Regions from separate parts of the Homo sapiens genome. Here regions 1 and 2 are each linked to region 3. Evidence: promoter capture Hi-C in human tissues and cell types (Jung and others, 2019). All regions are on one chromosome and are shown on one strand. The core of a region is centred on a gene start or on the middle of the fragment in contact, and the rest is flanking DNA. Distances in the headings are between cores, read along the strand shown. Region 1 overlaps RFWD3 (ring finger and WD repeat domain 3). Region 2 overlaps MLKL (mixed lineage kinase domain like pseudokinase). Region 3 holds the start of LDHD (lactate dehydrogenase D).

Region 1 (3,799 bases), core at 762-3,261, 460 kb after region 3:
CCAGTAGCACTTGACACTCAATTGTTCCTTCCTTGAAACATTGTTTTTCCAAGACACCACATTCCCATGTTTCCTCCTACTTTATAATCTTCCTTAACTGGCTTCTTTTACTCTGTTGTACTTTTAACAGTAGTGTCTCTGACTTTAGTCTTCAGCCCTCTTCTGTCATTCTGTTCCTCAGGTGGTTTAATCTGCTTTGATGATTTTAAGAAACATGAGTATTGGCCGGGCGCGGTGGCTCATGCCTATAATCCGAGCACTTTGGGAGGCTGAGGCTGGCAGATCACCAGGTCAGGGGATCGAGACCATCCTGGCTAACACAGTGAAACCCCGGCTGTACTAAAAATACAAAAAATTAGCCAGGCGTGGTGGCAGGCACCTGTAATCCCAGCTACTCGGGAGGCTGAGGCAGGAGAATGGCGTGAACCCGGGAGGCGGAGCTTGCAGTGAGCCGAGATCGCGCCACTGCACTCCAGCCTGGGCAACAGAGCGAGACTCCATCTCAAAAAAAAAAAAAAAGAAGCATGACCATTCTGAAGATTCTTAAAGCTGTCTGTTTGTTTTCATCTCCACTGCTACCACTCTTGCCTAGGTCTCTCTGACCTCTGGTCTGGACTCCCACAATAGCCTCTACACTGGTCACCTAGCTTATGCTCTTGCACCCCTACAGTGCATTCCTAACATAGAAGAAACTCCTTACCAAGGCCCATAGGCCCTTTAATAATGGTGTCCTGTTCATCAGTGAAACCCATGCTCATCAGGGACCTATGCACTGATTTCCTTCTGAGACTCTTCTTGGCTCTTTGCATAGCCAGCTGCTTTTAATCCTTCATGCCTCAGCCCAATTTTCACTCTTTAAAAGAGTACTTCCCTCACAATTGTGTCTTAGTTGGTCCTCTTTGTCTCCTCAACCCCAAACATCATAATCTATAATTTTTTTCATGTATTTGTTTATTGACATCTTACTTGCTAGAATCTAAACTCTGATACATGGGGTCTTATCTGTTTTTGCCTCTAGGGTGTCTTGTCTGCATAACAGGTGCTTAATAACTATTAGTTGAACCCCCATTTCCTCATAAGTCAGATGAAAATAAAAGCACGTGCCTTACTTCACAAAGTAATTAAGGGGATAAGTTATACTGATGTACTTTAAAAACTAGGTGGTAGGGAGGCACAGTGGCTCAGTCCTGTTGTCCTGATGCATGAGGAGGTAAGGCCAGGCATTCAAGACCAGTTTGGGCAACATAGGAAGCCTTCATCTATATAACAAAAAAAAATTTTTTTTTTTAGTTTAAAAACTAGGTGGTAGTTTTCAAACTGATACAATGGAATTAAAGATAGGAAACATGAAAAGAACATAGGTGCTTAATAAATATTTGTTGAATACGCTAACATGATGGAATTAGAGATGGAAAACAAAAATAATGAAAGGGATAGGATAAAGTTTGCTCAGCCTTTTTGGAAACATTAGGTAAGTTTCCATTTTGAGTTAGTAACAGTTAATTTTGCAAGTGTAAAAAATGTCCTTTCTCTATTTATCCCTTGTAACTGTTGATGCTGTGAAAGATTAATATTGCCTGCTAAAATTAGATACTGCATTATATGCATTTGATTTTGGTGAATGTCCATATTCAGCTTGAGAGAACTGCAAAGTGTCTGAGAGATTACTTTTAGACCCAGTAGTTTAATCTCCTTGGTTTATAGATCTTTCTATTTTGGAAGATACTACTATGATCACAGGACTTCATGTTTTCTAAGGGCAAACCGGAAAACTGGTTATAAATGCTTGTTATAGAGAGGAAAGTCCATTACCAAACACTTCTGACTTAAGTAGTTAAAATCTTCTCTTGAAGCTTCTCAGTCTTGCTAAGAATGATATTAAACATAAAATCAGAAAGATTAAATATGATTCTGTCACCTACATAGCATGTTTTATCTATTTTATTAATACTTTTTACAAATACTGTTTCTCTAGTGATGGCTCATGAAGCAATGGAATATGATGTTCAGGTGCAGTTAAATCATGCCGAACAACAGCCAGCTCCTGCTGGCATGGCCAGCAGCCAAGGGGGACCAGCCCTCCTCCAGCCTGTTCCTGCTGATGTGGTCAGCAGCCAGGGGGTACCATCCATCCTCCAGCCAGCTCCTGCTGAGGTGATCAGCAGCCAAGCGACACCACCCCTGCTCCAGCCTGCTCCGCAACTGTCTGTTGACCTGACAGAAGTGGAGGTCTTGGGAGAAGACACTGTGGAGAACATCAATCCAAGAACTTCAGAACAACATAGGCAGGGATCTGATGGTAATCACACCATCCCAGCATCTTCGTTGCATTCAATGACCAACTTCATCAGCGGACTGCAGAGACTTCATGGCATGCTGGAATTCCTGAGACCTTCATCTTCAAACCACAGTGTAGGGCCAATGAGAACAAGAAGGAGGGTATCTGCTTCACGGAGGGCAAGAGCCGGAGGGTCTCAGAGGACAGACAGTGCCAGGTAAATAAATATATGGATAAGTCTGTGATCATTGCTGTACTAGAAATTATGAAACTGAGGCTCTGCCATTCAAGGACTGACAGTGTGACTTTTGGCAAGTCAGGTAACTTCTGACCCCCAGTTCCTCATAGGTGGAAATAAAAGTGCTTGCCTTACTTCACAAAGTAATGAAGGGATAAGTTAAACTGTTGTGCCTTGAAAACTAGGTGGTAGTTTGTTGGCAATCTCTGTAGAGATTGGCTGTTGTTCAGATTGTGTCTTGTACACCAAAAATTCTTTCTTCACTTGCAAGTCTCTACTCACCCAAATTCATTATTCACTGGCATTCCACCTGGGGGCACAATTAATTAATTTTCTTTCATAGTCTTGGTTTGAACTTGCCTCTTGAAGGGCTTAGCTGTCAAGTCTTGACAGGGTTATTATGAAGAATAACAATTGCCTATACCCTGTCCGTTTTTTGGTTTTTTGTTTTTGTTTTTGAGACAGCGTCTCACTCTGTCGTCCAGGCTGGATTCCCGTGGCACAATCTTTGCTCACTGCAACCTCCATCTCCCAGATTCAAGCGATTCTCCTGCCTCAGCTTCCCCAGTACCTGGCATTACAGGCGCGTGCCACCACACCTAACTAATTAAACCTGTCTGTTTTTGGTTTTGTTTTGTTTTGAGATGGAGTCTCACTCTGTCGCCCAGGCTGGAGCGCAGTGGTGCGATCTCCGCTCAGAGAGGGCTTTGTTCAGGGTCTCATAACTATAGAATAGAGGAGTTAGCACTGATATTGGAGCCTGGATCTGCCCTGTTTTCTACATAGGCAGATGGAGGAAGCTTCGACGAAATCCCTTTGTTTTCTCTTTCTTCTTGTTTTTATTATTGTTATTTTTGAGACAGGGTCTCACTGTGCTCCCCAGGCTGGAGTGCAGTGGTGCAATCACAGCTCACTGCAGCCTCGACCTCCCCAGGCTTAGGCGATCTTCCTACCTCAGCCTCTTGATGATTAACTGGGACTACAGGCATACGCAACCATGCCGATGTTTTCTAACACTGTGAAAATATTGAGATGATACTAAAAAGTGGTAGCTAGGTCATCTATTACCCATGTTTTACAAATGAGGAAGCTGATGGGATAATTTGTGATTTGGTTGTGATAAGGCTGGAATTGGAATTGTGCCTTCTGTATCTGGATTCAGCATTCTTTTTCATGGATCCTGCTGATTTTAATGTTGGGGCTTGCCATGACTGTGGCTCCAGTGTCTGTAGTGCCCATCAAGGATGACAGATGCCTAGTTCTGTGTTGACAAGAGTTGCAAA
Region 2 (3,954 bases), core at 1,205-3,704, 430 kb after region 3:
TTTCTTGCTGGGTGCAGTGAGTTATGCCTATAATCCCAGCACTTTGGGAGGCTGAGGCAGGAGGATCACCTGAGGTCAGGAGTTCGAGACTAGTCTGGCCAACATGGTGAAACCCCGCCTCTACTATAAATACAAAAATTAGCCGGGCATGGTAGCAAGCGCCTGTAATCCCAGCTATTCGGGAGGCTGAGGCAGGAGAATTGCTTGAACCCAGGAGGCAGAGGTTGCAGTGAGCCGAGATCATGCCATTGCACTCAGCCTGGGCGACAAAAGTGAGGCTCCATCTCAAAAAACAAACAAACAAAACAAAACAAAATTCTTTCAACAATTTAGGTACAAAATTTTCAGGGTGAGACTTGCACTTCTTTTGTAAATTTATTCCTAAGTATTTTATTCTCTTTATGCTATTGGAAATGAAAATTTTTAATTTAATCTTTTGATTGTTAATTGCTAGCAGATAGAAATACAATTGATTTTTATAGGCTCTGAACCTGCCCTGATTCTCTGACAGACCTTGGACAAGCCTCCTTTGCCCTTTGAGTCTAAGACTCAGAGTGAATGAACAGATTGGATTGAGTTGGTGGTTCCAGTGATCCTCTTTAATAATTTACCTGCCTACATTTTTTAAGGCCCACGTTTTGGAAGGAATTTTGGTTATAAGATTTCACTTAATAAATATCTTTTTTTGTGTGTGTGTGGAGACGTAGTCTCGTTCTGTCACCCAGGCTGGAGTGCAATGGTGTGATCTCGGCTCACTGCAAGCTCCACCTCCTGGGTTCACGCCGTTCTCCTGCCTCAGCCTCCCAAGTAGCTGGGGCTACAGGCGCCCGCCACCACACCCAGCTAATTTTTTTGTATTTTTAGTAGAGACGGGGTTTCACCATGTTCGGCAGGATTGTCTCGAACTCCTGACCTTGTGATCCACCTGCCTCGGCCTCCCAAAGTGCTGGGATTACAGGCATGAGCCACCACGCCCGGCCTAGTATCATTATTTTTATTCATCAAAGACACACACCACGGGCTGGGCACGGTGACTCACACCTGAAATCCCAGCACTTTGGGAGGCGTAGGCAGGCAAATCACTTGAGGCCAGGAGTTTGACACCAGCCTGGCCAACATGGTGAAATCATGTCTCTGCAAAAAAAATACAAAAATTAGCCAAGCATGGTGGCACGCACCTGTAGTTCCAGCTACTCAGGTGGCTGAGGCATGAGAATTGCTTCAACCTGGGAGGTGGAGGCTGCAGTGAGCCAAGATCGCACCACTGCACTCCAGCCTGGGTGACAAAGCAAGACCCTGTCTCCAAAAAAAAAAAAAAGACACACACCACAATCTGTCAGAGTATATGCTAAACAACAGGTTACAGCCTAAAAACAGTAACAAATACTTGACTTTTTAGTTTGCCTAGTAAAGCCCTGTAGGTCATAAAAATACAATTCTATCAGACTATTTGAACTACTGAAAAGATATTAGCAAGTCCCATTAATATCTGACAGACCCCGAGGGACTAATTGTGCTGCCACAGGCACCTGAGGGGTTCCACATGTTGTTATCAGTAGCTGAGTTCATCCTGGCACCAGTTCTCACCCCAGATGCTGATACCCCCGCCCCCACATACACAGAGGGTCACCACACTGAATGTTCTCTAAGGAACCTTCCAGTTCTGAAATCCTGATTTCTCTCTTTAATCCTTATAGAATAGTGAGGCAGACTTTCAATAAGGAGATCAAAACCATGAAGAAATTCGAATCTCCCAACATCCTGCGTATATTTGGGATTTGCATTGATGAAACAGGTAAGGAATGCTTCTAGGATTGGTCAAGCTTTGGATGGCCTAGAACACACCTCCTGTGTTTTAATGTGTTGCATTTTTTTAAAGAACATCACAAAGGGTGGAATCCACAAAGTGTGATTATTATCAATGTTAATTTTTTTTTTTTCATCCCAAGATGCATGTTCTCATCTTCTTTCAGGAGGGCAGGGCTGAAGGCTGAGGGGTGGTTTGCACTAACATGGCCACATCTTCTCCTTTCAGCCCACTGGGAAATAAGGGGGTGCATGTTTAGATGCCAGCCTGGAAGAGGGGTGCATCTTGTTGCTCTAAAACATTATAAAGCTGCCAGGTGCAGTGGCTCACACCTGTAATCCCAGCACTTTGGTAAGCCGAGACAGGCAGGTCACTTGAGGTCAGGAGTTCAAGACCAGCCCAGCCAACATGGTGAAACCCCATCTCTACTAAAATACAAAAATTAGCTGGGTCTGGTGGCAGGCATCTGTAGTCCCAGCTACTCGGGAGGCTGAGGTGGGAGAATTGCTTGAACCTGGGAAGCGGAGGTTGCAGTGAGCTGAGGGTGCACCATTGCATTCCAGCCTGGGCAACAGAGCAAGACTCCGTCTCAAAAATAAAAATAAATTATAAAGCTGTCTGACCCAAAGAAGGAAAACACCCTTGGTCATCATTAGTATAGAACAAATCTAAAAGCAAAATTAACTTACCTGGCCAGGCGCTGTGGCTCAGCAGCACTTAGGGAGGCTGAGGTGGGTGGATCACAAGGTCAGGAGCTTGAGACCGTCCTGGCCAACATGATGAAACCCCGTCTCTACTAAAAATACAAAAAATTAGCCGGATGTGGTGGCACATGCCTCTAGTCCCAGCTACTCGGGAGGCTGAGGCAGGAGAATTGCTTGAACCTGGGAGGCGGAGTTTGCAGTGAGCCGAGATCATGCCACTGCACTCCAGCCTGGGTGACAGAGTGAGACTCTGTCTCAAACAAACAAAAAAAAAAACCATTACTTTACCCCTCTACCAAGAGCCTTATGTGACAGGCTCTTTTTTTTTTTTTTTTTTTCTTTTTTTCCCAATGTGACTGCATTTTCTCTCATGGAATGACCCCTCCTGCTGGTCATGTTTTGCTGCCGTCTTGCCTAGAGATTGGACAGAGCAACTCCTGTCTTATCCCCTTTGGAAGTTGCTCCACAGCCTCAGGCCAACTTGATTTCAGAGTGTGGAATCCCAATCTAAAGGGAAACGTAGGCCAGGCACGGTGGCTCACATCTGTAATCCCAGCACTTTGGGAGGCCAAGGTAGGTGGATCACCTGAGGTCAGGAGTTTGAGACCAGCCTGGCCAACATGATAAAACCCTGTCTCTACTAAAAATATAAAAATTAACTGGGCGTGGTGGTGGGTGCCTGTAGTCCCAGCTACTCGGGAGGCTGAGGCAGGAGAATTGCGTGAACCTGGGAGGCGGAGGTTGCAGTGAGCCAATATCATGCCACTGCACTCCAGCCTGGGTGACAGAGCTAGACTCTGTCTCAAAAAAATTAAAAAATAAAAAATAAAGACAAATGTTCAGCAACGTTTGTTCTCCTTGGGGACCGCTGAGGTGCCTGGCTCAGTCACATGTCAGTTTTGCAGCTCAGGCCCATGAATGGGGAAGTCGACTTCTTGTCTGAGTCCTCACCCGCCCCTGCCATGTGTGCCCTACTCATTCCTCCCACACAGATGTACGAAGCTTCTTGTGAGCACCCATGTGAACAAGACAGACACATTTCCTGCCTTCTTGGGAATCCAGTTGAGTGAGGAAGACATTCGCCAAATAACTGCTCAAGAAAATTTTGAATTATACCAAGAAAGGGAGATAGAAGTTAAAAAAGAAAAAGAAAAAGAATTTTTTTTTTTTTTTTTTGAGACAGAGTCTCATTCTGTCACTCAGGCTGGAGTGCGGTGGTACAATATGCTTACTGCAGCTTCCACCTCCGAGGTTCAAGCAATTCTCCTGCCTCAGCCTCCCTAATAGCTGGGACTACAGGCATGTCCCACCACACCTGGCTAATTTTTGCATTTTTCATAGAGACGAGGTTTCATCATGTTGGCCAGGCTGGTCTCGAACTCCTGGCCTCAAGTGATCCACCAGCCTCAGCCTCCCAAAGAGCCAGGATTACAGGCGTGAGTC
Region 3 (4,210 bases), core at 1,344-3,843:
GATCTTGACCAGATTTTGAAAGATAAGGTATTCTCTGGAGGGTGTGCTTCCGGGCCTCAGCAAATTGTCCTATTGGTTTGAGCCATAAAGATAGCTCAAGCTGGTACCAAGCACTGATAGCTTTGTCAAAGGTCAGGGGCGCCTCCAGTCAGAATTCTTCTGTGGTTACCAAAATATGAACCCCCCAAATCTGAGAAAGGTCTCAGTTAATTTAGAAAGTTTATTTTGCCAATGATGATGGTGTGACACAGCCTCAGGAGATCCCAATGACATGTCCCCAAGGTGGTCAGAGCACAATTTAGTTTTATACATTTTGGGGAGACTTGAGACGTCACTCAACATACGTAAGATGAACATTGTTTGGGTCTGGAAAGACAGGGAGGGGGCTTCCCGGTCATAGGTAGATAAGAGACAAATGTTTGCATTCTTTTGAGTTTCTAATTATCCTCTCAAAAGGAGGCAATCAGATATGCATTTAGCTCAGTGATCAGAGGGGTGACTTTGAAAGAATGGGAGGCAGGTTTGCCTTAAGCAGTTCCCAGCTTGACTTTTCCCTTTAGCTTAGTAATTTTGGGGGCTCAAGATATTTCCCTTTCAGACCTCTTCAGTAGAATTCTTTCTTCTGATGAGGCAAGCATTGAGTTTTATGTAGACCTGTATGGATTTCCCACCACTCACATGAAGACCATGACCTGTGACACATTCCCTGGAGGTCCTGAGAACATGTACCCAAGGCAGTTGAGTTACAACTGGTTTTATACAGTTTAGGGAGGCATCAGACAGTAATCAATATAAGCAGGGTATGCATTGGTTCCTTCTGATTGAGGGAGGAGCTTACAGGTCATAGGTGAATTCAAAGACTTTTCTGATTGGCGCTGGGCACGGTGGCTCACACTTGTAATCCCAGCATTTTGGGGAGCCAAGGCGGGTGGATCACTTGAGGTCAGGAGTTCGAGACCAGCCTGGACCAACATGGTGAAACCCTGTCTCTATTAAAAATACAAAAATTAGCTGGGCATGGTGGCACTCCTGTAATCCCAGCTACTTGGGAGGCTGAGGCATGAGAACAGCTTGAACCCAGGAGATGGAGGTTGTAGTGAGCTGAGATCACGCCACTGCCTGAGCAACAGAGTGAGACTCCATCTCAAAAAAAAAAAAAAATTTCTGATTTTCAATTGGTTGAAAGAAGTTATTATCCAAAGACTTGGAATCTTGGTATACAACAACAAAATTTTTTTTAAATAAAAAATTTTAAAAAAGACAACCTGGAATCAATAGAAATAAGCATCTGGGTTAAGATAAGGAGTTGTGGAGACCAAGGTTCTTTTTTTTTGAGACAGAGTCTCGCTCTGTCGCCAGGCTGGAGTGCCGTGGTGCGATCTCAGCTCACTGCAACCTCCACCTCCTGGGTTCAAGCGATTCTCCTGCCTCAGCCTCCCAAGTAGCTGAGACTACAGGCGTGTACCACCATGCCCAGCTAATTTTTGTATTTTTAGTAGAAACGGGGTTTCACCATGTTGGCCAAGAGGGTCTCTATCTCTTGACCTCGTGATCCTCCCACTTTGGCCTCCCAAAGTGCTGGCATTACAGATGTGAGCCGCTGCACCCGGCCCAAGGTTCTTATTATGTAACATAGATGGTAAATGTCTAAGGCGTTAAAAGGTGCCAGACTCTTAGTTAAATCTCCCTTAGATCAGGATAAAACCTGGAAAGAGGCTGGACGCGGTGGCTCATGCCTGTAATCCCAGCACTTTGGGAGGCCAAGGCAGGTGGATCACGAGGTCAGGAGTTCAAGACCAGCCTGGCCAAGATGGTGAAACCCTGTCTCTACTAAAAATAGAAAAATTATCTGGGCACAGTGGCAGGCACCTGTAATCCCAGCTACTTGGGAGGCTGAGGCAGGAGAATCGCTTGAACCCAGTGGGTGGAGGTTGCAGCACGCTACTGCACTCCAGCCTGGGCCACAGAGTGACTCTGTCTCAAAACAAAACAAAACAAAACAAAAAACCTGGAAAGGGGAGGGGATTCTCTACAGATTCTAGATTTTCCCCACAAAAGACAGCTTTTTGGAGCTATTTAAAAAAAAAATCAGAGGAATATATTTTGGGGGTAAAATACATTGATTTCTTTCAGGGCCTGCTATCTGTCAGGTGATGCTAGAGTCAGGTTGGAATTTGGTATCTTATTGCTACAAAGAGTCTGTTTTGTGTCTTAAGATCAGAATGCCTTAAGGTCTCTGTTTTAATGTTAATGCTGGTCAGTTGTGTCTGAATTCTAAAGGAAGGAGGGGGATAATGAGGCTTGTCCTAAACCTCTTCCCATCACAGCCTGAATTAATTTTTCAGGTTTATTTTGGAATGCCCTGGGCTGAGAGGGAGGTCCATTCAGTCGGTTGGGAGGCTTAGAATTTTATTTTTGCCTTACAGTTTCCCAAAACGTCCAGTGAACCTCGCCTCTCCTTTAGAAGTGTCGTCCCTGGAGCCCACGAAAATGTCTGCAAGATCTGCAAGGGCCACCTTAAAGCCCGTGCCACCTTAAGCAGGCCCCACCCCTGGCCTAGCCAATGGGCTGACAGCAGCAGTAGCTGCTGCCACAGTAGCTGACTGGTCACCCTGCCACCCAGTGCTCACACCCTCTGGCCAGTGCCTGGCTATGGCCCGACTGCTCAGGTCTGCAACCTGGGAGCTGTTCCCCTGGAGGGGCTACTGCTCCCAGAAGGCAAAGGTACCGGGAGAGAAGAGAAGTCCTCTGGAGGGATGAGGTGGGGAGCGGGGAGCAGGGGGTTCTGATCCCAAGTTTCCTGGGCTCTGTGACGCCCCAGCACCAAGTGACCTGACCTTGGGCAAAAGGGCACTGGGCTTACCCTGTGGCAACTGTGGGTGGGTGTAGAGTGAGATCAGCTGAGTCCCCACTGCTACCATGAGTGGGGCTGGGGGAGTCAAATGGATGCCCCTGGAATAAAACACACCTGTGGAAGAAGGCCCTGAAGGAAAGGGCCTGGGTTCCAGGCCAGGCTCTGTCCTTAACTTGGCCTCCATTTCTCATCTGTAAAATGGGAAGAAACACATCCCCCGCCCCGCCGCGCCCCGCCCCCCACGAAGGGCCCAGAAGCCCCAGGCAACGTAGAGTGGGGAGGGGGCAGTGGAAGCTTTTCCTCCCCCTAATTCCCTTATCAAGCTCTGAGTTCCCTGTGGCTGGGGTGGTGCTTGGTTGGCCCTGGAGAAAGGAGGAAGTGAGGGATCTTTTCGGTTGCTCAGGCTGGGCTGGCTATTGAAGGAACCCTGCTGATAGCCTTTTTGGAGAGTGAATTCTGGTTTTTTATTTGGATGGCTGGGCGCTGTGGCTCACGCCTGTAACCCCAGCACTTTGGGAGGCCGAGGCAGGTGGATCGCTTGAGCCCAGGAGTTTGAAACCATCCTGGGCAACATAGTAAGACCCTGTTTTTATTAAAAAAGAAAACATTAAAAAAATTCTGGTGGCGTTTTTTTCTGAGGGGAAACTTTGACCCCCAATGGCTCTGTTTGGAAAAGAGGCATTTCTGGATAGTGGGTTTGTTTAAAGTGGGCCCACCTGGCAAGGATGTTGTCAGCGGGGCGGGCGCAGGGGAGGCTCACTCCAGCCTCCAGCCCCCAGCCCTCCCCCCGACACTGGGGCAGGGCTGTGGCCCCATGTGTCTTTCGGGGGACCCTGGCAGTGTGTTTCTTCCCTGCAGGGAGAGCTCTGCAGGGACTTCGTAGAGGCTCTGAAGGCCGTGGTGGGCGGCTCCCACGTGTCCACTGCCGCGGTGGTCCGAGAGCAGCACGGGCGCGATGAGTCGGTGCACAGGTATGGGAGGGTTCGCGGGCCCCTCCCCTGTCTTCTGGATTCAACCCCAGCTGAGAGAGAGGGTGCTGGGTTGCCTTCCTCCTCACTCATCTGTTTTGGGGTGCTCTGGCATGTTCTCTGCCCCTCGCTTGCTGTAGCCTCAGGCCCTGCAACACCTCGGGACCAGAGGGTGTCACGCCCCGCTAAATCGCTGAGGGTCTGGTTCTAGGTGCGAACCTCCTGATGCTGTGGTGTGGCCCCAGAACGTGGAGCAGGTCAGCCGGCTGGCAGCCCTGTGCTATCGCCAAGGTGTGCCCATCATCCCATTCGGCACCGGCACCGGGCTTGAGGGTGGCGTCTGTGCTGTGCAGGTACAGTGGGGCTCCCTCGCCCGGCCCGAGGATGG

The links. The method cuts DNA at HindIII sites, captures the fragments that hold promoters and counts their contacts. A contact is called where the count stands out against the background at its distance.
Region 1: a fragment that was not itself captured here is called in contact with the fragment with the promoter of LDHD in region 3 in 2 of the 25 tissues and cell types used here (dorsolateral prefrontal cortex and hippocampus).
Region 2: a contact is called between a fragment that was not itself captured here and the fragment with the promoter of LDHD in region 3, in 1 of the 25 tissues and cell types used here (dorsolateral prefrontal cortex).

Annotation. Positions count from the first base shown.
Region 1 is chr16:74,659,628-74,663,426 of GRCh38, reverse strand. It overlaps RFWD3 (ring finger and WD repeat domain 3), which reads left to right. Exons shown (of 13, transcript NM_018124.4): 2 at 1,976-2,495. The coding sequence starts at 1,978. Among named protein-coding and RNA genes, the nearest start is that of RFWD3, 5.4 kb to the left of the region's middle. The HindIII fragment of the contact is 6,343 bases long and covers 1-3,799 here.
Region 2 is chr16:74,683,327-74,687,280 of GRCh38, reverse strand. MLKL (mixed lineage kinase domain like pseudokinase) reads left to right here. Exons shown (of 11, transcript NM_152649.4): 5 at 1,698-1,795. Among named protein-coding and RNA genes, the nearest start is that of MLKL, 16 kb to the left of the region's middle. The HindIII fragment of the contact is 5,809 bases long and covers 1-3,954 here.
Region 3 is chr16:75,115,163-75,119,372 of GRCh38, reverse strand. It overlaps LDHD (lactate dehydrogenase D), which reads left to right and starts at 2,593. Exons shown (of 11, transcript NM_194436.3): 1 at 2,593-2,724; 2 at 3,713-3,825; 3 at 4,034-4,175. The coding sequence starts at 2,653. It also overlaps a transcript of ZFP1 not described here. RefSeq lists an enhancer at 3,068-3,362. The HindIII fragment of the contact is 8,282 bases long and covers 1-4,210 here.